2 separate regions of the Homo sapiens genome follow, and region 2 is linked to region 1. Evidence: promoter capture Hi-C in 16 types of primary human blood cells and fetal thymus (Javierre and others, 2016). All regions are on one chromosome and are shown on one strand. Each heading gives the region's core, a stretch centred on a gene start or on the middle of the fragment in contact. The rest is flanking DNA. Distances are from core to core; before and after follow the strand shown.

Region 1 (3,988 bases), core at 1,148-3,647:
TACCAAAAATACAAAAAATTAGCCTGGTGTGGTGGCGCATGCCTGTAGTCCCAGCTACTTGGGAGGCTGAGGCGAGAGGATTGCTTGAGTCTGGGAGGCAGAGATTGCAGTGAGCCAACATCGCACCACTGCGCTCCAACCTGGGTGACAGAGTGAGAACCTGTCTCAAAAAAAAGAAAAAAAAAAAAGAAAGAAAACAATTATTCCCAAGAAAAGATGGTCAATGGACTTTATGCCAACAAATAGACATTCCTTTGTCTTTAATTTTTTTGTTGTACTGTGGACTAGTAAAAATGTCACTCTAGGAATGACTCTGCCTCTAATCTCTCTGAATCATTTGAAGGCAGAACCAGAAGAAATGGGCCTTAGGTGTGGCAGGAGGGAGTTAGGTTGCAGCCAAGAAAGAACACTTTTTGGAGGTCTTTAAAGAACAGGTGAGCCTTACCTGTGCTTAGGAAGTGAGGGTTGCAGAATCGGCTCCATGGGATGGAGGGGCCAGTAACTCTGGGTCCCACCCTGGAGAAGGGCAGAGCAAGGACCTTGTCTTGAGGGATTTATTCTCAGATCCACCAAAGTAGCCTGGGAACCTAAATGACAGTTCCCATCAGGCAGCCGTTTTCTGCTCGGAGTTCAGTGGAGATGCGATGGGGTTGCATGGCAGTGGGGAGGCTTCCATGGGCTTCTACTCACCCCTCACCACAGGGAGTTCATGTAGTCACCCACCTTGGGGCTAAATAGAGTGCCAGGAATGATGACCCTTGAGGAGGGCTGAGGACAGGAATAGAATGGCCACCCAGGAGTGTTGCTTGTTCCCTGCCTGCTGCCTAGGGTGTACTGGGCCAAGGCTCTGAGTGGGCAGGCCTGGCTGGCCGCAGCATCATTGGAGATGCTGTTTCCCTACCTCCTTCCATCCTGGGTGCAGCCCAGGACCCAGAGCCTTCTGTCCCAGTTCTCCCAAAAAGGGATCAGGGCCAGGTAGGTGAACACCTGTTCTGGTGCAGCATGCTCAGCACTGGCTGTGGGCGTGGCCCTAGTTTGGAGCTGGCCACTTGCCTGTTCTGCAACAGAGAGTGGGGACAGAAGTTGCGGGGAGACCCTGGTGGGGAAGAGGGAAGGGTCTGGTCTCACCTGCCCCATCCTAGTGGTGGGGATCAAGACCTCCACAGGTGGGCTCACATCCTCTGGGGTGGTGGCATCTTCTGACTCCAGAGGACCTCACAAGCCGCCTCATATCCCTGGGGAGGCTGAGAGGTGATACTTCCAAATTTAGCTGAAAGGCACAGACTTACCCACATTTTAATCCTGGAGTTTTAGAATGGTAAATCCGAATCCCTTTAGGTTACAAATGCAGAAACAGACTAAGGCAAAGGCGATCCCTTTCTCCTCCAAGGTCACTCTGGTTAGAAGGGTCTGGAGCCCCAGTTACTAGATGCTGTCATTGTTCTGCCGCCAAGTCCTTAAAGAATGGCAGAACATGACTTAAACCACCTGCTAAGTACAAGATTCTATGCTGGAGATGCAAAGGTAGCTGTCCTCAAGAGCACTTTGTCAAACAGGTAAACTTCAGGGCAACATGCAGATGCTGGAAAAGGGTGGATTTGCCTCAAGAGTCTGTGCATGCTTTCTAAGATACTCCCCTCCTTTTCATCCTCTGATGCGGGGAGGGAACCCTACCTGAAGAAACACCCCAAGGCCCAGGGGTAGATCTAGGGTGGAGAGATCACATATGGGAGGGCCCGGAAAGAAAAGGAACAGGGTTGTCAATGGGCATACCCCAAACACCTCACCCAGAAATGCCCTAAGGCCCCAGCCCGGAAATGGACCTCTGCTGCCCTCTAATGGTGGAAAGGCAGCCTCTGGAGCTACCTGCTGGGGTCCCCCCTTAAAGAAGAGGAGATGTGAAGGACACTTCTGCCCTCTCCCCTTTTATTCCCCTTCTGTCTTATGCTTCATCTCCTGTGGTCTCTAAAGCAGAACCTTCTCTTTTTTTTTTTGAAATGGAGTCTTGCTCTGTCGCTTAGGTTGGAGTACAGTGGCGTGTCAGCTCACTGCAACCTCAACCTCCCAGGCTTAAGCGATTCTCCTGCCTCAGTCCCCTGAGTAGCTGGGATTACATGTGTGCGCCACAATGCCTGGCTAATTTTTTTGTATTTTTAATAGAGACAAGGTTTCACCATATTGGCCAGGCTGGTCTCGAACTGCTGACCTCAAGTGATCTGCCTGCCTTGGCCTCCCAAAGTGCTGGGATTACAAGTGTGGGCCATGGTGCCTGGCCCCATCTGTTCTCGAGCACTCCTGGCTGCCCCATTTCCTGACCACTGCCCTCCATCCCATTATCTCCCCAGTTTCCTTTGTTGCCTAGGTTCCAATTCTGGTACCCTGGTTCCTGACCCTGCCAGAGTTCTGGTTCCGGAAGGCCCCCCACAGGTGCCTTGGGCCTAGCTCTCACCTGGGCCCAGGGCAACACTGAAGACATGGGCAAGAGCATCCCCCAATACCTGGGGCAACTGGACATCCGCAAAAGCGTAGTCAGCCTGGCCACAGGCGCCGGGGCGATCTACCTGCTCTACAAGGCCATCAAGGCTGGCATAAAATGCAAACCACCCCTCTGTAGCAACTCACCCATCTGCATCGCCCGTGAGTGTCCGGGCCCTGGGGAGAGGGCTCTGCCCCAGGAGGCACCTGCTCCCGAGGCCTCTGCTGTGGGAGGGCCCAAAGGTGATGCCTCCAAGTTCCTCTTTCCTTTGTCTTTCTCTTGTCCATCTTCCTCAAGCCCACCCTGCAGCGTCCTAGGCAAGGCCCTGCCAGAGATGCTAGCTCAGGGTCCCTGGATCTCACTCAAGTGGATCCTCAGACTCATCTGGCAGGTCTCCAAATACTACATTTCCTCTGGCTCCCAGGATTCCACTTCTTGGAAACTTGGTGTCGGCAGCTCCCCCCATCCCTTTTCTGCCCTAGGAACGTGAGGCTTTAAGGAAAGGGAAGATTGGAGGACTTACTATATGCCCAGAGCTTCCACTAGTCCACATGTTCTTTTGTGCAGAGTAGGAAAATGAGCCCCTTCTGCAAGACTCTTTATTGCCATCTGCTGGAATATCATTGCCACATACTGGTTATGATGAAATACTACTTGTTACCGCCATATGCCAGACAGTTGTTAGAGTAAATGGACAAATCTATGATGGTACGTTATGGACAATACAACATTAGATAGGGTGCCCTTGTGCAGTAAACATTCGTTCAACTGTACATGGTGGTCCTGCATATGGCGAGAAGGCTTCTCCGAAAAGGCAAGGCAGCCTTGTCCCCAAGTCCCTGTCCCCTACTTCCCAACCCCATTCTTTCATCACTTCTGAGTCCACAGCCTGAACTGGGCTGGGGTGGCTGTCTAGGCCTGGCAGTCGAGCGAGAGCGGCACGGGCGGGACTCAGGTGAGCTCCGGAGGCTCCTCAACTCTTTGGAGTGCAAACAGGATGAGTATGCCAAGAGCATGATCCTGCACAGTATCACTCGCTGTGTGTACTTGCTGGAGGCTGAGGTAAGGGAAGCAGGAGGTCCCCCCTAGCCGGCCTGGCCCCTGGGGGTTACGGCCGATCCCTGCCCCTGGAATGGCCAGACTATATCCTGGGACCTCTCTCTGGCTGATAGCGGTGGGGGGGGGGTGTGCGGAGGGATCTTGGTGACATGGGGGGCAGTGGGCCCAGAACACCCGCTTCTCCTGCCTCTTCCATCTCTCCCCAATACTCCAGGCCTCTGCTTGTACTACGGATGACATCGTGTTGCTGGGCTACATGCTGGATGACAAGGACAACAGTGTCAAAACCCAAGCTCTGAATACACTTAAAGCTTTCTCTGGCATCAGAAAATTCAGGCTCAAAATCCAGGTGAGCCCAGGGATGCGTGGTGGGGCATGCAGGATGTCTATAGTCCTTAAGTCCTTTAATTGCCATAGGATAAATGGTCATGTTCCAGAAGTTTGTTTGGGTGT
Region 2 (4,092 bases), core at 1,343-3,842, 620 kb after region 1:
TTTTGGTAGAGACAGGGTTTCACCATGTTGGCCAGGCTGGTCTCGAACTCCTGGCCTCAACTTATCTGCCCACCTTGGCTTCCCAAAGTGCTGGGATTACAGGTGTGAGCCACCGCACCCAGCCCATAAGCTCTTAAAGTATGGATTTGAGAGAAAACTAGAATCATATCTAAATATCAGGCCTTTAATCCCTGTAGGAGGAGATGGTACACATGGCATTGTCGATTGATCCTGGGAATATTTGACACCACTCAGTTTAATATCCTGAGCTCCAAGGCAGTCATTCCCTCTGATTCATCCCAGAACAAAGGACGTCTTAAAAACCTCTCATTACAGGAACTCTCCTCCTACGACAGAGATAAGTGGTAGGCCTGGCAGTGAACTTAAAGAGTATCAAACAATCCCTTGACTAAAAATTGTACCTCCTTAAGAAATAGACCTTTCATAATTGTGCAAGACAGAAACCACAACTCAAACCAACATAAGTGAAAAGGAGATGTATTCGAAAGCTATTGGGATTGTCAAAGAATTGAAGCAATTACAGCTATCAAAATTTCACATGTGGCTGGGCACAGTGGCTCACGCCTGTAATCCCTTCTCTTTGGGAAGCCAAGGCAGGTGGATTGCATTGAGCTCAGGAGTTTTGAGACCAGCCTAGGCAACACAGTGAAACAATGATGAGCAATGATGGCACCATTGCACTCCAGCCTGGGTAAAAGAGTGAGACCCTGTCTCAAAAAAAAAAAAAAAACAAAAAAAAACACAAACAAACACACGTATCCCAAACATATATACAACTATTATATATCAATTTTTTAAAAAGAATTGAAGAAAGATCTGCAGGGATCATGACAGCTCCGAGAGCCCCAAGATTAGAAGTGGAGACCAGACCCTCCAGGGACTTCACCTCACCTTTCTGCCCCTCTGGTGTCCCCTCATGGCAGAAGACACAGCTGCCACTAGCTTGGGGTAACTTCCCAGCCAGACACAGAAAGAGAAATCCCAGGGAAGGACCCTGATTGGCCTATCCTGGATCATGCACCATCTGGACCAGTTGCTGTGGCCACGGAAATGGGCTTCTCTTAATGGCCCAGCCTGGGCTACAGGGCCCTCCCCAACTGCTGGGGGCAGGACACTGTGATGGAGTAGGAAAAGAGTTACTCCCAGAGACAAAGTTATTACCAGGAGGATGGTAGATGGAATGCTGGGCTGACACCTGCATTACTTCACAGCCAGTCTCTCCTAAGGATTAAGGCATTGTCCTGTGAAGATGTGTGTATCAAGTGGAGATACACTATGGAGGGAAATTTGCGGGACCCCATCACCACCCGTGAAAACATCATCACAGGTTAATTCATCAAAGTTCTATGCCATAACGCAAAGAAGCAGCTGTAAAGGATTGGAAGCCAGCATGGAGTTTTGATGGGAAGTTGGGAGAAGATATATGGCAGACAGTGCATTACAAATTATCTCTTTTTTTTGGATCCACAAGGAGAAACCTATGTTTTAATCTACATGTAGGGAGCCAGGTATCTCAGGAAAATCAAGATACCATTTGCCACTGAGAGGGCTGCTGAATGTCAGTTGAACAGATTTCAACTGAAAGCCTAAAAGGTCCAGGGGAAGGAGCAGTGACACAGCTTGGAAAGGATATGGCTGCACAGAGAGGGCAGCGCACAGAAGCTGCAGCCTTAAGTAGGAGAACACAGCCAACCTGTGGGAGCCAGCAGGGAGGGACTAGAGAAATAAAATACCTTGGCAATCTCCGACCAGAGAGTTTCTTGACTAAAACCAACCAGGAGCCAGAGGACAGGAAGCCCACTGGGGCAATCCATACAGGACAGTCTCCTGGCCACAGAGCAGGATGAAGAGGGGTGGAGAATGGTGTAAATAAGAGGAAAAGTCACTCAAAAGGAGCAAGGAATATAGGTGGAATATCACAAGCCTGAGTTCTGACAACAAATATGGGCAGAAATGATGGGCGCCTCCCATAAGAACACCTCCCCGGCCACGTGCGCTGGCTCATGCCTGTAATCCCAGCACTTTGGGAGGTCAAGGCAGGCAGATCACCTGAGGTCAGAAGTTCGAGACCAGCCTGGCCAACATGGAAAAACCCTATCTCTACTAAAAATATAAAAAATTAGCCAAGTTTGGTGGCACACACCTGTAATCCCAGCTACTCGGGAGGCTGAGGCATGAGAATCACTTGAACCTGGTAGGTGGAGGTTGCAGTGAGCCAAAATTGTACCACTGCACTCCAGCCCAGGTGACAGAGTGAGATTCTGTCTCAAAAACAAAAACAAAAACAAACAAAAAAACACCTCCCCAATCCTTCACGCTTTCTCCTCCCTACCTGCGGGCTGGGTGTCAATCCCCCATACAGAAACCACATGAAGGAGACAGTACAACCTCCATCAGCCTGGGTCCCCAGATGACTTCATGGGGAAGATCCCTCCCCACCCATGAACCAAGCTTTATGTGGCCAAGAAAATGAATGTCTATCACATCAAGCCACTGAGATTTCAGTTGAGATGCTATGGCCAGCATGACTCTAACTGATACAGTAGCTGCAGATGACGTAGGGCTGGCCTCCTTAGAAGGGAAGCTGGACTTTGATCTGGACATGTCTTCCTCACTTAAAAGCTGGGTGAATTAATTTGCATTGTCAGAAAGGCACTTCATCTTGCTCAAAATAAAGATGTGGTTGAGCTGCCAAGCTTTTGTTTCTGTCATTTCACTGGGGGCCTTCTGCTGCTGGCTCTAGTTCAGGTCTCCTGCTTTGTCAAAGGCCCTTTTTTCTTTTGGTGGCCAATCAAGACCCAGCTTGGTAAATTACTCACTGGTCAGTCAGGAAAAAATAATGTTCTTATTGCAAATCACTTTAGAGTTTGCAGAGGGCTAGAGTTGGCATATTCTGTTCCTAAGGTTGGAAGGGTCCCTGGCTGAAAGCCCAGAATCCCAGAATCTCAAGGTCCCCCTGATGTTCAGTTTCCCCATCCCCCAAACCCTAACACTGGGTCAGCTCACTGACCCTTGTGGGGGTGGTGGAGAAGAAAGTGCCTTTGTTGGTGCTTTAGAAGCTCTCTAGAGATTTGCACGCCACGTTCAGCCACCCACAATCAGCTGTCCCCTGAGAATCTGATATGTACTCCCCACCCCACACCACAGGTCGAGAACCTGAGCTTGTCACTGGCTGGAGCATATGATCATGTGACTGAGGGGAAAGCTCTTCCTGCTCAGAATTGCTGGAATTTTAAGAGCCATATTTAGAACTCTGGGGCTTTCCAGCCAGAGCACTTTCAACAATACACCGTGCTTCCTTGAGTTAGGATGTTTAGATGGGCCAGATCTAGAGAACTGAGGTCTATTCAGGAGACTTTGTGATCTCGGTCTTAGCTGATGGCTCCCCCAAAGGAAGAGGATGGGAGAGGGGCAGCTCTAGGCCAAGATGGTCTTCTCCACCCAGCCTGTCTACATTATTCATATCCATTAAGATTGCATTGGGTTGCACATAACAAACTAACAACAGTGTCCATCTTTCATGGTGTGACCTGCAGATTAAACAGAAAGGGGATGGACAGGCTGGGCGAAGTGGCTCACACCTATAATCCCAGCACTTTGGGAGGCCAAGGTGGGCAAATCACCTGAGGTCGAGAGTTCAAGACCAGCCTGACCAACATGGAGAAACCCTGTCTCTACTAAAAATACAAAAATTAGCCAGGTGTGGTGGTGCACGCCTGTGATCCCAGCTACTCAGGAGGCTGAGGCAGGAGGACCACTTGAACCTAGGAGGCGGAGGTTGCGGTGAGCCAAGATTGCACCATTGCTCTCCAGCCTGGGTAACAAGAGCGAAACTCAGTCTCAAAAAAAAAAAGAAAAAAGAAAAAAAGAAAAAAGAAAGAAAGGGGACAGTCTACTACAGGAGAGAAAGTGACATAGGTAAAGATGATTTGTTCCTGCTTACACATGTTTTTTACATCTCTGACAGCTCAATTTAAATTTGGCCCCTCTCACTTGATTCTATTTTATTTTCCTTCATAGTACATATCACCACCTGCCATTTTATTCTGTATTGATTTGTTTATTTATCTG

Evidence for each region. Contacts are between HindIII fragments. The CHiCAGO score rates a contact against its expected background, and 5 or more counts as called.
Region 2: a fragment that was not itself captured here is called in contact with the fragment with the promoter of ARMC12 in region 1 in 1 of 17 cell types (naive B cells); the score reaches 5.3 in naive B cells.

Annotation. Positions count from the first base shown.
Region 1 is chr6:35,734,635-35,738,622 of GRCh38, forward strand. It overlaps ARMC12 (armadillo repeat containing 12), which reads left to right and starts at 2,398. Exons shown (of 6, transcript NM_001286574.2): 1 at 2,398-2,637; 2 at 3,393-3,538; 3 at 3,750-3,884. The coding sequence starts at 2,475. It overlaps LOC285847 (a long non-coding RNA gene), which reads right to left and starts at 2,313. Exons shown (of 10, transcript NR_027117.2): 1 at 2,207-2,313; 2 at 1,129-1,244; 3 at 446-730. RefSeq lists enhancers at 2,678-3,286, 3,287-3,895. The HindIII fragment of the contact is 11,422 bases long and covers 1-3,844 here.
Region 2 is chr6:36,355,589-36,359,680 of GRCh38, forward strand. It overlaps a transcript of ETV7 not described here. Among named protein-coding and RNA genes, the nearest start is that of BNIP5, 21 kb to the left of the region's middle. The HindIII fragment of the contact is 245 bases long and covers 2,471-2,715 here.